Regions from separate parts of the Homo sapiens genome. Here region 1 is linked to region 2. The links are contacts of gene promoters, found by promoter capture Hi-C in blood cells and fetal thymus (Javierre and others, 2016). All regions are on one chromosome and are shown on one strand. The core of a region is centred on a gene start or on the middle of the fragment in contact, and the rest is flanking DNA. Distances in the headings are between cores, read along the strand shown. Region 1 has its middle 3.9 kb from the start of RAB5A. Region 2 holds the start of UBE2E1 (ubiquitin conjugating enzyme E2 E1).

The links. The method cuts DNA at HindIII sites, captures the fragments that hold promoters and counts their contacts. A CHiCAGO score of 5 or more calls a contact.
Region 1: a fragment that was not itself captured here is called in contact with the fragment with the promoter of UBE2E1 in region 2 in 1 of 17 cell types (non-activated CD4 T cells); the score reaches 6.3 in non-activated CD4 T cells.

The regions. Positions count from the first base shown.
Region 1 is chr3:19,939,969-19,946,512 of GRCh38, reverse strand. It overlaps a transcript of EFHB not described here and the pseudogene HSPA8P18. Among named protein-coding and RNA genes, the nearest start is that of RAB5A, 3.9 kb to the left of the region's middle. RefSeq lists an enhancer at 1-535. The HindIII fragment of the contact is 1,181 bases long and covers 2,468-3,648 here.
Region 2 is chr3:23,801,980-23,808,750 of GRCh38, reverse strand. It overlaps UBE2E1 (ubiquitin conjugating enzyme E2 E1), which reads right to left and starts at 2,796. Exons shown (of 6, transcript NM_003341.5): 1 at 2,663-2,796; 2 at 1,330-1,514. The coding sequence starts at 1,481. UBE2E1-AS1 (UBE2E1 antisense RNA 1) reads left to right here and starts at 1,846. Exons shown (of 2, transcript NR_046652.1): 1 at 1,846-1,932; 2 at 4,037-4,727. RefSeq lists an enhancer at 1,281-1,370 and silencers at 1,671-1,850, 2,051-2,350, 2,541-2,670, 2,751-2,860. The HindIII fragment of the contact is 12,732 bases long and covers 1-6,771 here.

The sequences.
Region 1 (6,544 bases), core at 1,809-4,308, 3.9 Mb after region 2:
GCGGGGAAGGCCAAATCCTAAAATAGTGTCTGCCTTTTATTCAGAATTTCCCTTCGCTCTTTACTGTACTAAACGCTTTACAGGAATTATCCCATTGAATTCTTACACTCGAGTCTTTCATTCTGAAACTAACTTGTTAATCGTCTGTTCCCTACATTCGAATTTTAGCTCCCCTTGGTGGTCCTCACCGCTGTAAATCTATGTCTAGCCCAGTGCCTGGCAGCCAAGTCTTCAGTTCTAGTTGTAGATGTTTTATAGGTAAAGAATTTGAGACACAAGAGATTGAGTAACTTGTCCGAGATCACGGCTGTGTGGTGCAGAAGCTGGATTCTGATCTGCGGCGGGTTGGCTCCAGAACGTGAGTTGTTGAACACAATTCTGGTGAAAGACAACCCAAGATGTTCGTTACCCTCCACGGGGGACCTACTGAAGATGTGCTGCTTTAGTTGAATCCCACACCACATTCAGTCTCTGGCGAGGCTTCAGCCACCACCCCCTCCCCAGCCTCCGCCAAAAAAATTGTTTTGATAATTTAGTGGAAGAATATTAAATTGATTTTCCTTCAGAATAAAGGCTACTTTTCAGTTTGCAGTTTACAATGTATAGCTCTGTTGTAAGGGCGAGAATATTGTCTTTGAAGTGTACCGGGTTAAGGTATCTTATGGGCGTACAGTCGGCGGCATTGTGCAATTAAGATGATTTGAACTTTGAACAGCCCGTCTTTCAGATCAACTACCTAGTTGCCAGAAGAACGTAATGTGTCATACGTAAATGATACCTGTGGCATTTTATTCTCAAGGAGTTGTTCAATATGAACTATTAATCATGGTAATAGCTCTGGGACAATCCCAGGAGGAGTCAGGAAATAGGATATGTGACATCAGTTTTGTCATGTCAACAGTATGCCCAAAACGAAACCTATTCCACTCCAAACCTGCTTCTGCTTAGAGACTGGCATTAACATCCTCCCAGTCACCCAGACTTGGAACTGCAGAATCAGCTTCACCTCTTTCTTCTCCTCACAAACCATTGTCCATTCTATCAACAAATTATCTAATCCCCAAATTTGAAGTCTAATCCCAACACCTGGTCCATGGTAGTGTTTATATAAACTGAAATTAATGCATACTGCTGTTCTTTCTGTCCATTCTTTACATTTTAGCCACTCTACTAAAAAATGTTCAATGCTATGTCATTACTTGACAGTCTAAAGTTCTTTAACTCTAGTCCCAACCCAAGTTTCTTTCATTCTATTTCTATAGAATTCCTCTCCCCATACTCTTTATTTGTTCCCTGATCACACGTATCTGGTCTGTGTTCCCTGAATATTGCCTGTGTGTTGCCATCTTGGTATCTGATCACTTTATTTTCTCCACATGGAACACTATCATTGCCCATAACTGCTGGCTCCGTCTTAGCCAGGACACCAGTTCCTTTGGACCGCATCTGCAGATACTTCTACTGGATTCAATTATTATTTTTTCTGTAATTTCACAATACTTTGCCTTACTCTGTATAATGGCTGTCTTAAAATCTGCCTTATTTTAATAGCTAATGAGCACCTGGACTTTTCTCCTTAGCCTTTCATTGAATTATAAGGTTTTTAAGGGCTGTGACCATCAGTTATTCATCATTTCAGTTCTTCACAGAAGACCCTTGACTGCTATAATAGGGACCCCCAAAGTATTGGTGAACTTAATTACATTTAGAATCACGAACATTAAGAAGACCTCACAATGAAAAACATTTGATGCTGAAATTTATAAATTGCAAAAAACTCCCTATTTCATCGTTCCAGTATGTTGCTTCTTCACTCGTTCCTGTTTAGTGATTTTGTCTTCACCTCCTTCATGAATACTTTTCACAATATTTTACAGTTTAGTCATAATGTTTGCCTGGAAGAGTGCTGCCCTGGTGGCTGGCATTTCTAAAGATCCGGTAGTAGTTTTAGAGAAATTGAAATGACACAGTAAAGCTCTGTTGTTTTATTGCCACTTGCAATATGCCTATGTTTTCTTTTTCATAGCCCCAGATAACTGAGGAGGACTGATAATTGTATATATTTTAGTGTCAAATGTGGAGTCCTACCAGTTGATAGAACTTGTTAAGGAAGGTACAAAATGGATAAATAATCATGAAGACTTAAACACTGTCTTTGATGCTTATACTGCCCTCAAATCTCTAAATACTCAATAACAAATTCCCAGTGGCAGGTGTCTCTCTACCATTCACAGGATCCCATAACCTTTTCCTTCTCTTCCAGGAAATCTGTCCTCCCTTGTGTAGCTAAAGAATGAATCTTTGCATAGATGATAATGAATGGTTACATTTACTTTTAACTGGAACTGTCTGGAGACAATTCAAAATTTTTCCTGGAGACAAACCAACGGTAACTCTAACATTGGCGTAGTAGCAAGTCAGTGAATAAAAGGCTGTGAAAACTTAAGCTAGTCATGTTTCAAAAGCTTGTGTCTTTGGAGGGCATCATTCAGGCTTCAGCTCAAATGTCATCTACCTAAGGGACTTCTAAGCCCACTAATTCTAAATGCTTTGTTACATATCGAAGTAGTCTGTTGTCTTCATAACAGCACTGTTTGATATGATATTATGCATTGTCTTCATAACACTTAGCACCATTTGATATGATATTACGCATCGTTCCACTTAATGGTTATCTATCCCTACTAGAATATAAGCTCCATGAGATAGGGGTTGGGTTATACAGTCAGTCCATCTGCTTGTGATTGGTTCTTGGACACTCCCTTATTCCCCCACCATATGGGTACCAAAATTTGCAGATGCTCTAGTCTCATGTAAAATGGTGTAGTATTTGCATGTAGGCTATTCTGTATGCTTTAAATCATCTTCAGATTACTTACAATAAGTAATACAATGTAAATGATATGTAAATAGTTGTATTTTTTTAATTTGTATTATTTTGTGTTTTTTTCATTTTTTAACTCAAATACTTTCGATGGAATACAGAGGGCTAACTGTATTCCCAACACTGACACAAAATAGGGAGGGACTCAATACCTGTTTGTAGAATGAATGAATGAATTGAATGAGCCCTTACCTGGATTTACATACTGCAAAGTCATTTGAAGAATTTATGGGGATTTATTGAATGCTGTGGCCACTTTTGGGGTTCCTATGTCTTTCTTCAGAATCCAATCCGGCCTACATGCAAACAACCCTGTTTAAAGGACCTGCAGTTGGTATTCATCTTGGCACCATCTACTCTTGTGTGGGTGTTTTCCAGCATGTAAAAATAGAGGTAATTGCCAATGATCAGGGAAATTGAATCACTCCAAGCTATGTCACCTTTACTGATACTGAACAATTGCTCAGTGATGCCACAAAGAATCAAGTTGCAATGAACCCCATGAACACAGTTTTTGATGCCAAATCTGATTGCTGATTGGACACAGACTTGATTATGCTGTTGTCCAGTCTGATATGAAGCATTGGCCCTTCATGGTAGTGAATAATGTTGGCAGGCCCAAGGTCCAAGTAGAATACAAGGGAGAGATAAAAAAAACTTCTGTCCAGAAAGGTGTCCTCTAGGGCCATGGACTGGTACTGGACTGTGGCCTGTTAGGAACTGGCTGCCCAGCAGGAGGTGAGTGGCAGCAAGTCAGTGAAGCTTCATCTGTATTTACAGCTGCTCCCCATCATTCACATTACCACCTGAGCTCCCCCTCCTGTCAGATCAGTGGCAGCATTAGATTCTCATAGGAGTGTGAACTCTATTGTGAATTGCACACACAAGGGATCTAGCACTTCTTATGACAATCTAATGCCTGATGATCTGTCACTCTCTTCCATCACCTCCAGATGGGACCGTCTAGTGGCAGGAAAACAAGTTCAGGGCTCCTACTGATTGTACATTATGGTGAGTTATATAATTATTTCATTATATATTACAATGTAATAATAATATAAAGTGCACAATAAATGTAATGTGCTTGAATTGTCCTAAAACTATCTTCCCCCGATCCTACCCCCTGCAACTTGGTCTGTGGAAAAATTGTCTTCCATGAAACTGGTCCCTGGTGCCAAAAAGGTTGGGGACAGCTGCTCTGTTATTCTGACAAAGATGAAGGAAATGGCAGAAGCCTACCTTGGAAAGAGTGTTACCAATGCTGTGGTCACAATATCAGCTTGGTTTAATGATTCTCAGCATCAAAGCTACCAAAGATGCTGGAACTATTGCTTATCTCAATGTACTGAGAATTATCAATGAGCTAACTGCTGCTTCTATTGCTTATGCCTTAGGCAAAAGGTTGGAGCTCAATGAAATGTGCTGATCTTTGACCTTAGAAGTGGTACTTTTAAATTTTTATTTATTTATTTTCTTGAGATGGATTCTCGCTCTGTCACCCAGGCTGGAGTGGTGCGATCTCGGCTCACTGCAATCTCTGCCTCCCAGGTTCAAGTGATTCTCCTGCCTCAGCCTCCTGAGTAGTTAGGATTACAGGTGCCCACCACCACGCCTGGGTAATTTTTTTTGTATTTTTAGTAGAGACGTGGTTTCACCATGTTGGCCAGGCTGGTCTCAAACACCTGACTTCAGGTGATCTGCCCCCCCTCAGCCTCCCAAAGTGCTGGGATTACAGGTGTGAGCCACTGTTCCTGGCCTTTTTTTTTTTTTTTTGATGGAGTCTCACTCTTGTTGCTCATGCTGGAGTGCAGTGGCGCAATCTTGGCTCACTGCAACCTCTGCCTCCCGGGTTCAAGCGATTCTTGTGCCTCAGCCTCCCGAGTAGCTGGGATTACAGGCATGCACCACCATGCCCAGCTAATTTTCGTATTTTTAGTAGAGACGGGGTTTTTCCATGTTGGCCAGGCTGGTCTTGAACTCTTGACCTCAGGTGATCCGCCTGCCTCAGCCTCCCAAAGTGCTAGGATTACAGGCGTGAGCCATTGCGCTTGACCTGGAAGTGGCACTTTTAATGTGTCAGTCCTCACTGTTGAGGATGGAATCTTTGAGGTGAAATCTACAGCAGGAGACACCCACTTAGGTGGAAAACACTGACAACCAAGTGGTCCACCATTTTATTGCTGAGTTCAAGTACAAGCATACAAAGGACATCAGTGAGAATAAGAGAGCTGTCTGACATCCCCATACTGCTTGTGAACATGCTAAGTACACTCTTTCTTGAGCAGCCAGGCTAGTATTGAGATCCATTTTCTCTATGAATGAATCAATGTCTATACCTCTTACACATGCCCTATTTGAAGAACTGAATGCTGACCTGTTCTGTGACACCTGGACCCTATAGAGAAAGCCCTTCAAGACACCAAACTAGACAAGTCACAGATTCATGATATTTTCCTGGATGGTGGTTCTACTTTTATCCCCAGGATTCAGAAGCTTCTCCAAGACTTTTTCAATGGAAAAGAACTGAATAAGAGCATCAGCCCTAATGAAGCTGTTGCTTATGGTGCAGCTGTCCAAGCAGCCATTCTGTCTGGCAACAAATCTGAAAATGCTCAAGATTTGTTGCTCTTGTATGTCATTCTTCCTTCCCATGGTATTGAAACCGATGGTGTAGTCATGACTGTTCTCATTAAGCATAATACTACCATTCCTTCCAAGCAGACAGACCTTCACTACCTACTCTGACAGGCAGCCTGATGTGCTTATTCAGGTTTATGAAGGTGAGCATGTCATGACCAAGGATAGCAACCTGCTTGGCAAGTTTCAACTCACAGGCATACCTTTGGCACTCCAAGGTGTTCCTCACATTGAAGTCACATTTGATATTGATGCCAATGGCATCTTCAGTGTCTCTGCTGTGCACAAGAGTACAGGAAAAAGAACAAGATTACTGTCACTAATGACAAGGGCCATTTTAGCAAGAAAGACATTAAATGTGTGGTCCAGGAGGCTGAATAGTACAAAGCTGAAGATGAGAAGCAGAGACAGGTGTCATCAAAGAATTCCCTTGAATCCTATGAATTCAACATGGAAGCAACTGTTGAAGATGAGAAACTTCAAGGCAAGATTCACGATGAAGACAAACAGAAGATTCTTGTCAGGCGTAATGAAATTATTAACTGGATAGATAAGAATCAGGCTGTTGAGAAGGAAGAATTTGAACATCAGCAGAAAGAGCTGGAGAGAGTCTGCAATCCCATCATTACAAAGCTCTAGCAGAGTGCAGGAGGAATGCCTAGGGGATTCACTGTTGGTGGATCTCCTCCCTCTGATGGTGCTTTCTCAGGGCCCAACACTGAATAAGCCAGCCCAAGTACAGATGTAGCATTGTTCCACACACTTAAAACACTGAAGGACCCAAATATGTAGCAAATTCTGTGGCAGTTTTTTTTCTTTTTTGATCAGTCAATGTAGTTTAATTTTTCCCAGTCAAAATTTGCCTAAAAAGGCCTGTAATCTCATAAAAAAAGAAGTACATAGAAAGTAAGCCTTTAAAGGAATTGGACAGATCATTCCAAACTGGGGCAGGAAATTGAGTAGTCTTCATGAGGAAGGTGGTGTTTGAGAGATGTCGGAAGATGGCTGAGTCAATAGGGGCAG
Region 2 (6,771 bases), core at 1,547-4,046:
GGGCTAATCAGTGAGGGTCAGTCAGGCCTCCTGAGAAGCTGTACAATCAAACCAAACCTATAAAAATGAGAACAATCTTGCAGAGGCACCTTGCCACTTAAGACCTCCACACTATTTTTTAAAAGTCACTCCTTCATCAGCCCATGGTTAGGTCACCAAAACACTGCCAAGTTTTCAAATTACAAGTCAGGGAGAATGACAGAACAAACTCTCAAACCCTGACTTCCAGGCTCACTACTCAGTGGAGAGATCTAAAGTCTCATGTTCTACTTTATTTTAAAAATTTTTAAGAAGGGTATCCCTATCCCATCATTTGGAGTTCTTACTATCTTCCTGGTTTGCCACCTTTTTAACAACTGCCTAACTCTGAGAGCAGAAGGATTTATGAAAGGGTGTCTCAGAGCTCCTAGGAATCCACTAAAGATGATTTTGAGGGTCATGGCGATCAGAGGATATTACTGAAGGATGGCAGGGGTAAAAAGTAGCTACCTCCAGAGGCTTAAGAGGAAAAGAATAAAGAAAAAGGGTGACCGCTTAGGATGGCAGGGATAAAAAGTAGCTACCTTCAGGGCCTTAAGAGGAAAAGAATAAAGTAAAAGGGAGACCACTTAAATTGAAAAAATAAGGCAAAGTAACATTTTCACAGCATGAGGACAGCAAATAGCATGAAAAAAAGACAAGTCTCCCTGAAATTGGTAAACTGAAGTTTTTAAAGAGAACCACAAAAATAACCTAGAATAACCATTTTATAGTCACTTACTGATTCATTCATTTGCCTCAACTCTCAGAAAAATCTCTTTAAATTCCACCAGAAAACATCTGTCTTCACCTACTAAATTTTGTACCTGCTAATATGAGTTTCTTATTCCTTATGCAATTTGTGAAGAAAGCTCTATTTAGAAAAGATCATCCATGCAACAGGTGAGGAGAAGGTAAAATGGTCACAGAATTCATTTTGATGCAGTTCTCTGGGCTGGTATTAGTAATTAAGAAATGGGATCATGGCCTTGGGGAAGGTCACAGATTAACCATTAGTAGGACAAGAAATCTGAAATCAGATTTGGGGGTCACTAATAAAAGTAACGAGGAATCTTACAAACTTCAGCAAGAAATGCGAGAGGCAAGCCGCAACAGCTGCATGTGAGCAATGATTTAAAAACAGAAGCAGCAATAGAGAAAATAATTAGGGCTTCCAAGGCCCTTCTTTCATTTTTAAGAACACATAAACCATGAGGAGCGTTTAAGCTATCCTCATTGGGAGGCAGACCAAATGCAGCAAGAGGCAGTTCGGAAATAGGAAGCCTGTGGAAAAAAAAAAGAGCACAGTACCTCTTGGCGCTGGTGGAGAGGAGTTTGGAGTTTTTGCTCATGCTGACTTTACTCTCCTTCTTCTTGGGGGTGTTTGTTTCTTTCTCGGTTTGCTGGTTGGAAGACGAAGATGAGGAGGAGCTGGTGCTGGCCCTCGAATCGTCATCCGACATAGCGAACCCCCCACCCCACCCCGCAAACAGCCCCTGCAGGGGGAGAGAAACAAAACAGAAACACACAAACCATGCAGCCAGTGTAAATAAGGAACTCGGGTGCTGTCAGGAGGGCATTGACCAGGGGCGCACGCGGCCGCCCACCGCCCTCCACTCGCTTTTCAAAGTCTGCAGGCCCATTAAGGCTTTTGCAAATCGGACGCGGCTTGTTTATTTTTGGCCCCAAGTGGGGAACGCTGTGGGAAAACGGTCTGGAGCTAGGAGAGAGGCCCCTCCCTCGCCCCCCGGGGCTCTCCGCTGGGCAGGGAGGGAGTAGCCCGGGAGGCGAAGGAGGGCAGGGCGGGGGGCGCGGGGCGCCACGGCGGGGCAGGGAGGGAAGGTCCCGGCGGCCGGCCGGCCTCGGGGCTGTTTTTGTCCGCTTTCCGGGGGTCGTGAGGGGCCGGTGGCCCGGGTGAGACTGTGGGGCCACGAGCGGAGTTTGGCGAGGTCGGGAAGAGAGGAGGGGCGGGAAGGAGTAAGAGAGGAAGCCGAAACAGGGGGACGGAGGCGGGGAGCGGGTGCCCGGGTGGGGGAAGGGAGAGGCCGGCGGGGGGCAGGGGCGACGAGGCCCGAGGCCCCCCCGCGCCGCGCCCCGACGCCCCTCCCGGCCTGCCTGCCTCTGGCCGCCCTGCTCACAGCTATGCGGCCGGGCGGGGGTCCGGAGCACACGCCCGATCGCCACTCCTGTAGGGGGATAGGGGCTGCGGCGGGGAATGGGGGGGTCGGCCTCCGCAGCGAAGACATAACAATGAGCCCTTCCGCCCCGGAGGGGTTAATCCCCGCGAACCCCCGCCCCTGGGGAAAACGGGGCTCCCCCAACTCCCTCCCACCCCCGCTCCCGGGCCCCTCGGTGGCCAGTGGGGGGCTCTTGGGGCAGCGCTGACAGTTCGAGCCACAATGACCCCCGTCCTCAATGCGGGCGGCCCCCGCACCCCACGCGGCCCGGGGTCCCTGCCCATCCCCCGCGGGCGGGCCCCGGACCCCTGGGGCTCCCCAGCCCCTCTCCGCTCCCCCCCCGCGCCGGCCCCGTGCCCTGCGGCCCGGCGGCCCCGGCGGCGCGAGTCGGGGGAGGCGGCGAGGGGTGTCCCCGAGGCCCGGCGGCGCGGCCGGGGGGCGGCGGGCCGCTGGGGGGATCCCCGTACCTCTCTTTGTGTCTGGCTCCTCCGTGCCGCCGCGGCGGCTGCTGCTGCGGCTGCGGCTGGGCCTGGCCACTCGTGTCTCTCTCTCGCTGGGAGAGAAGCGGAAGTGCAGCAACAGCAACTATTAAACAGGCAATGGCTTCCCCCAGCCACACACGCTCGCACACACACCACTCCTCCGCCGCCGCCTCCTCCTCCTCCTCCTCCTCGCCCTCACCCCTCCCCCACCCGGCCCGGTCCCACCCACCCGCGCTCCCCTCCCCCTGCAACACCTCCTGGGGGTGCGCGAGGAAGACCCAGGAGACCCCAGGAAACCCTGTCCCCCACAGACACCCCCACCCCAGCGCCTCCTCCGGACGCCCGGGAAGGGGGCGAGGGTTGTGAATTTTCTCTTAAGTGGTTTGGGAACCTGGATTCTGGGCGGGAGAGGGGAAGCCGATGGAGATGGGGGGCGCTGGGAGTGATTGGAACTAGATGGAATAGGGGGGTCACGAGAGAAAGTTCTTTCCAATGAGGGCTTTTGGAAAGGAGAGGAGTAGGGAGGTGGCAAATTGGTGAAAACGTTGGTAATCTGGTGGTGGCAAAGACTTTAGAGAATGCAGCGGGTACTCCACCTAAAAAGCGATTAAAGAGAAAAAAAAAATCACACAACAAGGGTTTTCTTTGGACTGACACTTGCTTCTCCTTCTAGCAATTTACCTGCTAGGAGCAGAGGTCAGTTTAGGTATGCCTGTGAGAAAATCCCAAACTAGGAATTTTCTGCTCAGGTCACGCGAGGCACGTGCAGTTTTACAATATTAGATTCTTCCACTCACTTTTTATAGAAAGTGATGTGGTTTTTTATAAGAGTGATACAAAGGTTTTGGTGACAGGTAAAACCAACGTGTAACGGGCTTGCGAATGTGAGACATCACTGGGAATAAGCTATATACTACTGAATTAGACTGGATTTAGAATTTTTTGTGTCATTTTACATTAGATGTAAGGTTTGGTTTTTGGAAATTGGATGCAAAGTTCTGGGGATCGCAGAATCCCCAGATCGCTAAATTGACCAAATTATTTTTAAAATATTAAGCCATTTTTCTCTTTCTTTAGCTACCTATAAATGCTATGCAAATAATATTTTTGAAATGATCAGCAATTCTTCTGAATTGTTCCTTATTTAGCATTTTTGCCAATTTTTTTTTAATATTAAGCCATCAAATTACGATTCAGTTTCTCACCTTTTGTCATTTCAGTTGAAGGGAACTAAAGAGATGTGTGCCATTCAAATACAACAGTGCCACACATACAAGGTCTTGTACATTAAGGAGACAGCCTCAGATTTCCATAGGTCACTCTAAATTATCTCATTCAAACTGCCATCATTTTCCACAGCAACAGTGGCTTCAGTTACCACAGGACAACACAAGATATACAGCCCATGGCATATCCAGTAACCAGGAAAACAAGCATTCTCACGACCCAGCCGAACTCCTTCTAACCATCAACCTGAAATTCCAGCTTTATCAAGACTCATAAAGTAATTGTGCATGCTTCTTGCTCAATCCCTACCAGGAAACCTGTATCTACCAGGAGTTGTCATAGAATAAGAAGTTCAAAAGCTGGAAGAAATCTTCAGGGTCATAATTTCAGCCTCCTGCTTCCAGACAGAACTATTTCTCCACCACTGAAATGCATATAGATTTTGAAAAAATTTCCAGACATAACCTTTCTTAAGTGTTTGGTTTCAGGAGTCCTGGTAGAGTATATAAAAATGATGACATTCTTTGCTATATATTTGAAAAAATTTTTTAAACTTCTGAAAAACTGATTGTATTCTTTTTGTTCTGATGAAAAGATGTAAATTCAGAAGAAAACAATAAGAAGATGAAATAAACTCAGGATGAGGAAAATAATCTAAAAATAGTTATTAAAATTGAAATTTCCTCCTATGAAAATTTGGATTTCTGATACTTAAAAATATATGTCTACATTATGAATACAACCAGTAAAAAAATCATGTGTTATAAAGACAAGAACTAGCAGAGATCACAGGAAAATAAAAGGTTTGATTTGCTGAAGTGATCAGGACAGTAGGTGAATTTTTTCTTTAATATTGGTTTGCATAAATTGCCTACCAGCTATAATAAGAATTCTTTTGTAACAGAACATGATATTTTGTGTTGTGTTACTGATGCTTGGGTTGGACTGATTCCTTGTGAAAGAAATCATGAAATCTAACAGCTCCTCCTATAAGGAAAAGTGATTTCCCAACCACCTGTCTGGAAGGTTTCTTGCCCTCTTTTGTGTACTGTTCCCCCTAATCTCTAATTCCAGCTAGCTTAAGTTAGTGCTTTATCGTTTTGGAATGACCTGATGACAGGGAATAAAAACTTCAAAATGTTTAGAAAAGAATCCAGTCCTCTCAAAAGACTAATCTTTATGTCGAATTATTTTTAAGACCTGTATGCAGCTGTCTTAGGGGAAAAAAAATTCATACACAACTTTCTATCTCTCCTTCTTATTAACTACAAGGCCTAAAAAGCTAAATTGACCTCCCTGAGCCTCAGTTCCCTCATCCATAAAGGGCAGAAATACCTGTGCTCTACTGACTGGCAAGGTCAAATATGTATCTGTAAGTAAGGTGATTTATTAGCTGTTACGCAAAGTAAATTATTAATAATTCCACTCTAGTGGAATTTTCTTAGTTCATGGGTTTGGGGTTATTTGTTGCTTTTATGTTTTTGTTTTTCGTCACCAGGGCAGAAAAGAGGACATGGGGTTTTTATAACTTAGAATTGATGAAAATATAAGAAACCTTCCAGGAGAAACATATACTCAAGGAATCATAGTATTTTATGCCTAGAAGGGGCCTAAGATATCTTCTAGTTCACACTCTTCATGTTACAGATAAAGAAATCAAAGCAAAGAAAGTTATGTTGGCCGGTATGTTGGCCGGGCGTGGTGGCTCATGCCTGTAATCCCAGCACTTTGAGAGGCCAAAGCAGGTGGAACACGAGGTCAGGAGATTGAGACCATCCTGGCCAAGATGGTGAAACCCCGTCTCTACTAAAAATACAAAAATTATCTAGGCTTGGTGACATGTGCCTGGAATCCCAGCTACTCGGGAGGCTGAGGCAAGAGAATCTCTTGAACCAGCGAGTCTTGATTGGAGGTTGCAGTGAGCCGAGATCGCGCCACTGCACTTCAGCCTGGGGACAGAGCAAGACTCTGTCTCAAAAAAAAAAAAAAAAAAAAAAAAAAAAAAGCCAGTATGTCTTATCCAAGGTCATGCAGTAAGTTGGTGGCAAAATTGTTGTTATGACCCATGCTATCCACAGATGATCTTGTCAGTTCTGGCAATATTGGAGTGGGAGAAGAGCCTCAATTACATTGCAGAAAAATGTATTAAATATAAAAGGGCCGGGTGCAGTGGCTCACGCCTGTAATTCCAGCACTTTGGGAGGCCAAGGCAGGCAGACTCCTTGAGCCCAGGAGTTCAAGACCAGCCTGGGCAACATGGCAAGACTGTCTCTACAAAAAATGCAAAAATTAGCCAGGCCTGGTGGCACATGCCTGTGGTCCCAGATACTTGGGAGGTTGAGGTGGGAGAATCACCTGAGCCCCAGAGGTTGAGGCTGCAGTGAGCTGTGATTGTGCCACTGTACTCCAACCTGGGTGGTGGGAGTGAGACCCTGTCTCAAAATAAGTAAATAAATAAAATAAATATAGTAGTCTCTGATAATATTTTCGAGAATATATTAACAATCAAGACAGCTGGGAAAGTGGGAACATGGAAGCAAGCTAAGGGAATCACTGAATTTGTAACATGGTTGCTTGAACTAATGACTGCTATTGAAGTTCCCCAACCCCACCCTCATCCTGAGAATAGTCCTCATTATTTATTTATTTTGCCTATATGGATATATTTTAAATAGATAATACATTTTCATGCTATATTATTCTAAAGAAACCAGAGAGTATGCCACGAAAATATCTTTCTGCCCCTTCCCCCACCCCTAATTTCCTTTGGAGAAAGCAGTTTTCGGTTGTAGTCTATGCATGTGTAAAGCAAATGCATACATATGCACTGAATGCTTTGATAGTAATGCTCAATTTACATTTTAGAA